Linked DNA regions of Homo sapiens: regions 1 and 3 are each linked to region 2. Evidence: promoter capture Hi-C in 16 types of primary human blood cells and fetal thymus (Javierre and others, 2016). All regions are on one chromosome and are shown on one strand. The core of a region is centred on a gene start or on the middle of the fragment in contact, and the rest is flanking DNA. Distances in the headings are between cores, read along the strand shown. Region 1 has its middle 8.7 kb from the start of MIR615. Region 2 holds the start of HOXC13 (homeobox C13). Region 3 holds the start of FLJ12825 (a long non-coding RNA gene).

Region 1 (3,224 bases), core at 310-2,809, 100 kb after region 2:
ATTCTTTTAACAGGATATAATAATAGTAATAATAATAATAGACTAGGTGATGATCCTATGTCCTGGCCAATAGCCATCAAAAGGTACAGCCACTGAAGGTGTGGATTTCAGTGTTTGAGTTTACATGGATTAGGCCAAGAACAAGCAATAGGCGAGAAACTATTGCTGAGTAAGAGCATCTGATGGCACAGGGAGTGCACAGCTATGACAGAAATGCTTGTGTTTCCTGAACACTTGGGCTGGGCCCTGAGCCAGTCCACTGCTGGGTCCAGACCCAGGTATTCTCCCCCAGCCACTTCTCTAGAGCTTTGTTTCAGAGTGAATTTTCTGGTTGGGTTCTCCTCCCCTTCTCTTCCTGATCTCTTGCCCTCTTTGAGCTAAGGGGCAGGAGTTCTGATGGACTGTGGCACCTGGACCTCTAAGCACCCCCCTGGGGGCATTAAGAGTACAAGAATGGGAAGGATAGTCCGGACTGAGCTGGGCTTTGTCAACAATCCCCTCATTGTTTGTCTTCTGGATGGAGCTGGTTTGGGGACAATGCCACAGGCCAGGTGGGAAGGATAAGGATGAGAAGCCAGAAAAAGAGCAGCTCTTCTCAGAAATCATTGAGCCCTCACTTTTCAAGTTACCTTCAACCACACTGCTCCATCTGCTTATTTTGAGACTAAGTTTCACTCTTGTCGCCCCGGCTGGAGTGCAATGGCACAATCTCGGCTCATCGCAAACTCTGTCTCCTGGGTTCAAGTGATTCTCCTGCCTCAACCTCCCAAGTGGCTGGGATTACAGGTGCCCACCACCACACCCAGTTAATTTTTGTATTTTTGGCAGAGATGAGATTTAATCATGTTGCCCAGGCTGACCTCAGGTAATCCACACGCCTCATCCTCCCAAAGTGCTGAGATTACAGGTGTGAACCACCGCGCCCAGCCTTTTCTTTTCTTTTCTTTTTTTTTTTTTTTTTTGAGATGGAGTTTCACTCTTGTTGCCCAGGCTATAGTGCAATGGCAGGATCTCAGCTCACCGCAAACTCTGCCTCCTGGGTTCAAGCGATTCTCCTGCCTCAGCCTCCTGAGTAGCTGGGATTAGAGGCATGCACCACCACGCCTGGCTAATTTTGTATTTTTAATAGAGACAGGGTTTCTCCGTGTTGGTCAGGCTGGTCTCAAACTCCTGACATCAGATGATCCGCCTGCCTTTGCCTCCCAAGGTGCTGGGATTACAGGCATGAGCCACCGTGGCCAGCCCCATTTGCCTCTTTTATGAGTTAGAATTAAAGGACACACTTATTCTTCCCCAGTGAATGGTGTGGCAGATTGTTGGAGACCAACTCTCACCCTCAATGTGGACTTCTCACACTGGGGTACCAGATCTCATGAAGAGTTAGGAAACAAAGACAGGGGGAGATTGGTTCTATCCACACAGGCACTGGGAAAAGAGATTTTGTGAGTGCCTCGACCCCTCCTTGTGAGTGCCTCAAAAAGGTAAACTTTCTCTTTTTGACTGTCGTTCTCTGTAACTGCTTTGGACTGAGTTTTTGAGAGGGGGAATGCTGAAACATCATTGTTCTAGGATTTAATTAGGTCCTTTTTGCTGAGAAGACAAGCACCACCACCCTGAGCCTCTTCTTTAGTGGGACTAGGGCCCCTGAAGCCCTTTGAGGTGAAGGAGAAAGAAAATCTGAAATCAGGGTGCCAAACTAGGGTTTTGGGGTGAATGATTCAATTTAAGGAGAAGACGATGCTGTTTGAGAGCCAAGAAAGTCACATCCTTTCCTACCCCTCCCAACTTTTATTGGCTCCTTGTGACCCACATTGGTGTGTCTGTACTGATACTATCTCTGCTAGCAGCTTTGATGGGGCTCCAGGAGCCCAAGGAATTGCCAGACAAGGTCTGGGTTGAGGAACTTCGGTGATACAAATCTCTTTATTTTTGAGGCCTACACAACCCTTGTAATCATCTCCCTCTCCCAATCCTAAGGTTCACTGAGAGGCAAAAGGGGAACAGAGATACCTCAGAGGAAGCGGTATGGGTGTGCAATGTGGGACTTGGGAAAATTGGACTCGGTTATGCAGGACCTTGTTCAGCCTCTAAGGACCACATTTTAGCAGCTATGAGAAGAGGTTGAACACTTGGGCTGGGCCCTGAGCCGGTCCACTGCTCCAGGCATGCTGGGGAGCAAGTGCAGGGAGAAGGCTGCTTCTCTGCATCTGTACACATGTACAGAGAAAGTTCTACAGTGATCTGCAACCCCATATGGGCTGGGTGAAATGTGTAGCCTGGTCACCTAGGATCCTTTCAGTTCTGCACCACAGGTCTCAGAGAGGCAGTTCAGGCTTGGTTCTGCCCTCTAAAGATTCTCATTTACCCCAGCCCCTGGCCCTGAACACCAGAATACCTGAACACACAGAAACACATATATGTGCCCAAGGATGGTATGGTAGAGGTCAGAAGCCTGGGCTGGACACAGTAACCAGCATGGAACCAACTTCCCACTCCTCCCTCCCACTCCATTCTTCCCGTCAGCCCAGCTTGGAAACCATTTGTCCTCCCCACCCCACCCCCACCCCTCAAGCCCTGCGCAGCTGTTGAGTTTCCTTCCTTCTGCCTTTCTGGAAAACTCAAACGCTAGAGCTGACTCCAGGGATGGTGGCAGCCAGGCTTTCTGTGATCTTCAGTGTTGTGTTGGCCCAGATTGAGTTGTCAGGAGTTGAAGAGACATGGAGGGTCCAAGGAGGCCAGAATCTTATCTGATCTAATCCCCCTCTCCTTCTGTTCCAAGCTCAAACTCCAAACTCCTCAGGGCTCCCTTGCTCAGACATTAGAGATAAATCTTGTCTAGTAAATACTTCTTTTAAAAGTCAACTTTCTGGCTGGAAAACACAGGCTGTGTGTGTGTGTGTGTGTGTGTGTGTGTGTGTGTGTGTGTGTGTGTGTTTAGGGAGTAGTAAGGGTCAGGTCTTTCATTTTATGTTGTGTCTCTCCCCATCCCCTGGGTGGAGGATGGGGGCACAGGCTGAGGTTTTATTGAGGGTGCTTTTCCTGTTGGGAGTAAAGACAGGGTCATAAACGCCTAGAGTAGGGTGTTTTGATCTGGTGACTTCTCAGGAAGTAGCATCTGAGGTTTTGCTTTGTAAATCACTCTCCCCCAAAGCTGGCTTGGCAGATTGGATTGCACTTCCCCAAGCCCACCTGAGGCCCCTCCTTTCCTCCCTTCCCCAGTAAAC
Region 2 (3,099 bases), core at 75-2,574:
TTGAGGCTCCTGACAAGTTGGGAGATTGGGAGGAAAGAAGGGAGAGCTTTTGAAGAATCAGTAAGTTGGTGTTAATTTTTTCTTTGAAATAGGGGGCAGTTTTAGATCATGAAACTATTCCTCACTAAAAGAGGGTGACCTAAGAAAGCCGTGGGAGCTCCATTGCGGGTATTCAAACTGGGGACTGTGTCATGTGGCTTAACCCAGGCCCCTGAGGGCAGAGGTGGGTTCTGCAGGGTCCCCCAGAGTGGCGCCAGAGAGAGGTCCCTCCAAAGGTGTAGCACTGAATCTCCCCCATTTTCCACGTTTTCTTTTGTATACCTATAGAAAGCGCGCTCTCCTTCGCATCCAGGGCTTTTAGCTTTCCCAGGCTGAATCTTGCGCCCCCACCACCCGCATTTCTTTGAAAAACCTCACTCTGAGATTTTTTATTTCTATTACATATTGAAATATCAGTCTATTCTATTGCTTTTATTTCCCTCGTTTTATTCTTTCTCCATTTATTGCCGAGTATATTCCATTGCCTCTCGATCCCCTGCCCCAGGTGATGAATTCTGTATTTGGGGGTTGTCACACCCCTCTCCGCTTGAGAAAAATCCAGCGAGGTAAAGCAGAGTGTCCTTTTCAGACATCTAGAGTTTTGGGGAATGTGGCTGAAGGTAGGAAATGGAAACACAATCCCGGCATCAAAGGCTCGCTACGCAGCATCGGGTTCTTTCCAGCCGCGAGCGGAGGCGAGCTGCCAGGGCCAGAGCGCTCCTGACTGTTTTCTATTATCTTCATTTATTATTTTTTAAAACCTGGTTTCTTCCCCACCCTTAGCTTCAAGCCCCAATCCAGAGACTTCAGCAGTCACAGTGATCGGCTTGGCGGTAGGGGGTCTGTCTCTCCGGTGCACATCCTATGCCTAGGCGGAGGCGCCCAGTTACAGCGCTCTCCTCCCTACACCCCTTTGCGTCGGCCAAATTCAGCCTCCCCCCCCTCCCTCTCCCTCCCTGGGGCCTGCCGGGGGCGTCTCCCTGTCCCTTTAAATCTCCCAGCTCCCGCCTCCTTTGGCCTACCTGAGATCCAATCAGCACAGACTTTTTCCCTTTCGCCCCGCCCCACCTCGAGGGGAGGGAACCCCAGGAGACCTGGCCGGGGCATCACGTGCGCAGAGCGGGTCACGTGGGCGCGGGAGGGGTGCTGAGAGGTGGAGAGCGGGAGCCGGCGGATTTCTTAATGAAGTGTCTCCGCATGCGTAGAGGGAATGTAGGGAGGGAGGTGGAAGCACTAGGAGGAGGGGAGGGGTGGAGAGAAAAGAGGGGAGGGATGGGGGGAGGGGAAACAGGAGCGAGGTGTCTCCCTAGCTCGCTGCCTCTGGCAAGTGGAGTTTTTAAAAAGCTCCAGCAGATCATGTCATGACGACTTCGCTGCTCCTGCATCCACGCTGGCCGGAGAGCCTTATGTACGTCTATGAGGACAGCGCGGCGGAGAGCGGCATCGGCGGCGGCGGCGGAGGAGGAGGCGGCGGCACGGGCGGAGCGGGGGGTGGCTGCAGCGGAGCGAGCCCCGGCAAAGCCCCGAGCATGGATGGTCTGGGCAGCAGCTGCCCGGCCAGCCACTGCCGCGACCTGCTTCCGCACCCCGTGCTGGGCCGCCCGCCGGCTCCCCTGGGCGCCCCTCAGGGCGCCGTCTATACGGACATCCCGGCCCCGGAGGCGGCGCGCCAGTGTGCCCCGCCGCCCGCACCCCCCACCTCGTCCAGCGCCACCCTGGGCTACGGCTACCCCTTCGGGGGCAGCTACTACGGCTGCCGCCTGTCGCACAACGTGAACCTGCAGCAGAAGCCTTGCGCCTACCACCCGGGCGATAAATACCCGGAGCCGTCGGGCGCCCTGCCCGGTGACGACCTGTCCTCTAGGGCCAAGGAGTTCGCCTTCTACCCCAGCTTCGCCAGCTCCTACCAGGCGATGCCCGGCTACCTGGACGTGTCGGTGGTGCCCGGGATCAGCGGGCACCCGGAGCCGCGTCACGACGCCCTCATCCCCGTCGAAGGCTACCAGCACTGGGCTCTCTCCAATGGCTGGGACAGTCAGGTGTACTGCTCCAAGGAGCAGTCGCAGTCCGCCCACCTCTGGAAGTCTCCCTTCCCAGGTAAGGAAGGGACCCGAGCGCCGCCGCCGCCGGGGACCCCTCCCCGCCCTGCCTGCCCCGGGGCTCCGCGCCCCAACCACCCCCGCCGTCTGGCCCCGGCGCGCCCGCTCGGCTGGGCTGCCTATGGAGCCGGCCGGGCGAGCTGCACTGAGGAATGCGCCGGGGAAGAAATCTGCTCCGACACGTTCTCTGTAGCTGCCCGGCCGAGAATGAAGCAATCACAGGCGCCCGAAAGCCGGGCCGCCGGCTCTGCTCTGTCCGGTAGCTCGCCTCCGCCTCCCCTTGCAGGCTCCAGCCTCCCGCCGGGCTCTTGGCCCCTAAACCTGCTTCCGGCAAGGGATGGGGGCGGGGTGGGCCTATAGTGCCTTGGAATCCAGGACAAAACCCCCAACCCACCGAATAACTGGGGAGGGCGGAGAATAAGAACCCCCACTTTCTTTGACAGAATTCGCAGGATCGTTCAGGCACTAGACAGTATTTTTTAAATAGGGGACTAATTTGCTGGGGTCTACAGAAATGTGAGATTTATTTTTTTCCTTTCCTGACTTATTTTAAAAATCTGGCCACGAATTTCCTGATTGTTGAGGGAACAGAAGATCCAAAATCTCTGGAGAGGGAGTGGAGAGGAGGCTAGAATCCCTCCCCAGCATTGTAAAGTTTTCCTTGCCTCTTTGGTATATTGAGCTCAAACCTATAGACATTTCCACTGCCAACTCCCCCATATGTGGTCGAGAAAGAGAGTTAGTTATTGGTGCCCCAGACACAGAAAGAAGGGCGTGGGGATGAGAAATGGGAGAGGAAGACCTGTTCAAGACCTGTTCAGGGGCTTCTGGAGTCCAGACCCAGGCTGGGGACCCCTTGGTCTTGTCTGGCTAAGGATGGGAAGGGAGAATTCATTCCCCTCTTGTTCCGTCTCCAGTTGAAGAGAGAAAGGCTCCTGTAAATCCCACCGCTCTCCTTGCG
Region 3 (3,132 bases), core at 214-2,713, 120 kb after region 2:
TGACAAATGAACCCAAACTAAAATCCCTTACATTTGAGTTTGAAGATTTTGGCCTCTGGCCTTCCCTCCAGTGGGCTCCATTTTCTCCCCTTTCCCCAAAGCTCTCCTTTGCCTTGGACTTGGCAACCCAGAATGGCATGGCAGGGTTGGGATGTGGGGGGCCAGTCTGGGCCGAGGGCCCCAAGCTCCAGCAGTCTTGGTCCCTGCTGCTCTGCCTGATGCTGCTACAGCCTCGCTGGGAAGCTGAGGGCTGGGCTTTTATTTAAGTTGGGTTGAGCAGTGGGGAAAGGCTGGGGGGAGGACACAGCCCAGGTTCACGGGGAGGACACAGCATTTTCTCTCCCATTGCCTTTATATTCGGCAGCGCCTCTGACCTCTCCCCCACCCCCATCTCTGACCCTCCCAAGCCAGCCCTTGCTCAGCCCTGGTCTCCAGATAGGATGCCACTGCTTTTGTAGGACTGGGGATTTCTTGCCCAGAGTAATGGGAGAGGCAAGGCGCATGAATGCCTGTAAGTGCATTGTATCCCTCTCTCTTCAATGGCTAAGTAAAAAGAAGACGGGTGAAATGTCGACACCAATCTTCCAGGGTTCCTTCTCTCCAAGCGCCAGGAGATCCCCACAGGCCAAAGATCCCATTGACACGTAAGTAGTTAGCACTCGGTCTGCTCTGGGGGTGAGGAGCACAAAAGTTTAAACTCTTATTTGCCACTCAATTTTTGTCTCAACTCCCGGTCTTAGGCAGGGAAGGCGGGAAATCCAATTGTAAGCGGAGGGGTTCTGCTTGGAGAAAAAGACGGTTCTGTGCTGAGTCTGTGTACCTGGGGAGTAAAGAAATTTGGCTCAAAAAAGAGAGAGTCTGAGAAAGTGAGACTGAGGGAAAAGGACTGGGGCACTTTGCCTTTCCGAGGGTCTCTTGCTGCTGTTTGTGTGAAGTTTCCTACAAAGTTTTCTCTGCAATCTGTGCTTCAGTTTTCTTTCTGCTTGGACTTGGCAGATTGAAATCCAGAGACAGCTTCCCACAGCTAGGGGTGTGTGTGTGTGTGTGTGTGTGTGTGTGTGTGTGTGTGTTGGGGGGAGTTGTAGGGAAGTGAAAACAATTAAAAGGTTTGCTGGGAGCTTGGAGCCAGGGTGTCCTTCTCTGCTTTTCTAGGATTAGGGGAGACTGACTCTGAAAGGGGCCCTTAAGATCAAGGGTGCTATGACGGGGAGGAGCAGTGCGCTGGAGCAACTGTACCATCTTTTTCTCTGCCTTTTGCCCAGTCCTGGGGGAGCAAGCTATTGCACTCACAAAACCACCGCTCCGGGTTTTCCACAGCTTCTATCTGGCACTGCACCTATGGAGAGCTAATTTTAATTTAAATGTTCCCCTTCCAAGAGACCCCTCTCAGGCTTGGAATGAGAGATGGAAGATCCCTGAACACCAGAACTCCAGCGGCCACCAGAGCAGAGGGAATATTTATTACCTCTCTGGATGTCATTACCTAAGAATACAATTTTATGAACTTCCTAATCTGTTAGCTTGATTTATCTGGATGGGCAGGAGCCCAAAATAAACATTTGGGGGATTTGTTAAAAAAAAAAAAAGTCTTTGCCTCTTACCAATGTTTTTGATAGAGCTGACCACCCTTCTCAGCCTGCTTTTTCTGCACCCTGCATTGCCAGCCCCATTTTGATTTTTCTCCTGCAGCGTGTGGCTGCTCCGGGTGTTGGAGTTTTAGCTGCCTCTTGATAATTAAAAATGGGGGCAGTGAACTCTGAGCTACAGATCTGTGAGGAGCCCTCGAACATTTTAAAACCTGCGCAGCTCAAGGAGCTCAGACCCCTTTGGAGCTTGGGGAGCAGAAAGAAGCTAAAGCTGATCTGGAGCTTTGCTCATCAGCCCTCCAATGCCAGGAGCCCCTGGCTCTCCCTCCACTCCTCCGGGTTTTTCTTCTCTTCTCTCTGGTGTCAGTTCCGTAGCTCTTTGAACGCAGGGCCAATCCAGCAGAGCCCACATCCAGGCCTGCCGGGATAAGGGCCTCTGCAGCCTCATCTTCCTGCTTCCACTTTCTGCCAGGCCTGGAGGATAAATCAGGAGGAAGGGAAGACAAGGATGGGTAGGGAATATCAGACTATGTTTGAGGGCGATTAGGGTTACAGAGCCTAATAAAGAGGAAGGGACTATTTTAAATTTCCGGGCCCCATCAACAATTTTCAGATTCCTGAATAGGCAGCATCCTCTAGGGTCAGCTCTGCCTGCCTCGATGGGGTATGAGTGAAGCCAAAATAGTGTCGCTTCTACTCACTCCTCCTTTCTGACTCCCTCTTTTCCCAGCATCAAAGATCGGGAGAGGAAAGTATACAGTATTTTAATTTCCAGGCAGAAAAAAACCCTGGAACCGAGTGTGCAGGAGGCACTGCCAGATAGCCAAACCCTAGGTTCCACTCTGGAGCTCTGGCTTCCCGGGAAGCCTGGCCGCGAGAGAATGGGGCAAAATGTGACTGTCTTCATGGGGTGGGGGTGTCCCAGCTCCCCTTCTCACAGAGGCCAGGGTCTTGAGGATCGCGAAATGGGGCCAGCCGGGGCAAAGACGAAGTTTCAAGGGCCAGCGGCAGCCAGGCTCCTCCTCTGGGTTCCACGCCACGTCCGCCCTGGGCGCGGTGTCGCCTTCAGCTGGGTCACGACCCCGGGCTTGGGCGGACAATAGGGGCGCGGGGCGGGGAGCGCGGGATGCGTGGCCAGCTGAGCGGGTTCACTGCGCGGTGAACTCCGCTGGGCCTGAGGGTCTCGCCCTTTAGATCCCAGCCTCTCCTTTCTTCCTCCTATCTCACCTTCCATCTTTTCGTGGAAAATTGAGAGGACCCTCAATCGCTCCTTGACCAATACCCTACGGCTACCACCTCCAAATAATGAGATTTCATTTTCTTTAGAAATTAAAAGATAGTTTTCTCCGAGGTACAAGAGCAGGAAATGGGACCCTCTCAGGATCTTTGTGGGGATGGAGAGGGGAGATCTAGGTATCAGTGGAAGCGTTCTCGACCCGGGACTCAGGAAGGCCCTGAAGGATCCCAGGCCATCAAACCAACAATCCCCTCCATCAGAGGAATTCCAGCCAAGAATGTCCCCTTCTCTCCCAGTTATAGGGAGAAT

What was found. The method cuts DNA at HindIII sites, captures the fragments that hold promoters and counts their contacts. A CHiCAGO score of 5 or more calls a contact.
Region 1: a fragment that was not itself captured here is called in contact with the fragment with the promoter of HOXC13 in region 2 in 2 of 17 cell types (naive B cells and total B cells); the score reaches 5.4 in naive B cells.
Region 3: a contact is called between a fragment that was not itself captured here and the fragment with the promoter of HOXC13 in region 2, in 1 of 17 cell types (total B cells). The highest score is 5.1, in total B cells.

Annotation. Positions count from the first base shown.
Region 1 is chr12:54,041,034-54,044,257 of GRCh38, forward strand. It overlaps a transcript of HOXC4 not described here. Among named protein-coding and RNA genes, the nearest start is that of MIR615, 8.7 kb to the left of the region's middle. The HindIII fragment of the contact is 4,734 bases long and covers 1-3,224 here.
Region 2 is chr12:53,937,507-53,940,605 of GRCh38, forward strand. HOXC13 (homeobox C13) reads left to right here and starts at 1,325. Exons shown (of 2, transcript NM_017410.3): 1 at 1,325-2,136. The coding sequence starts at 1,401. HOXC13-AS (HOXC13 antisense RNA) reads right to left here and starts at 2,137. Exons shown (of 3, transcript NR_047507.1): 1 at 1,965-2,137. The HindIII fragment of the contact is 9,814 bases long and covers 1-3,099 here.
Region 3 is chr12:54,057,921-54,061,052 of GRCh38, forward strand. It overlaps FLJ12825 (a long non-coding RNA gene), which reads left to right and starts at 334. Exons shown (of 2, transcript NR_026655.1): 1 at 334-644. RefSeq lists an enhancer at 1-232. The HindIII fragment of the contact is 9,317 bases long and covers 1-3,132 here.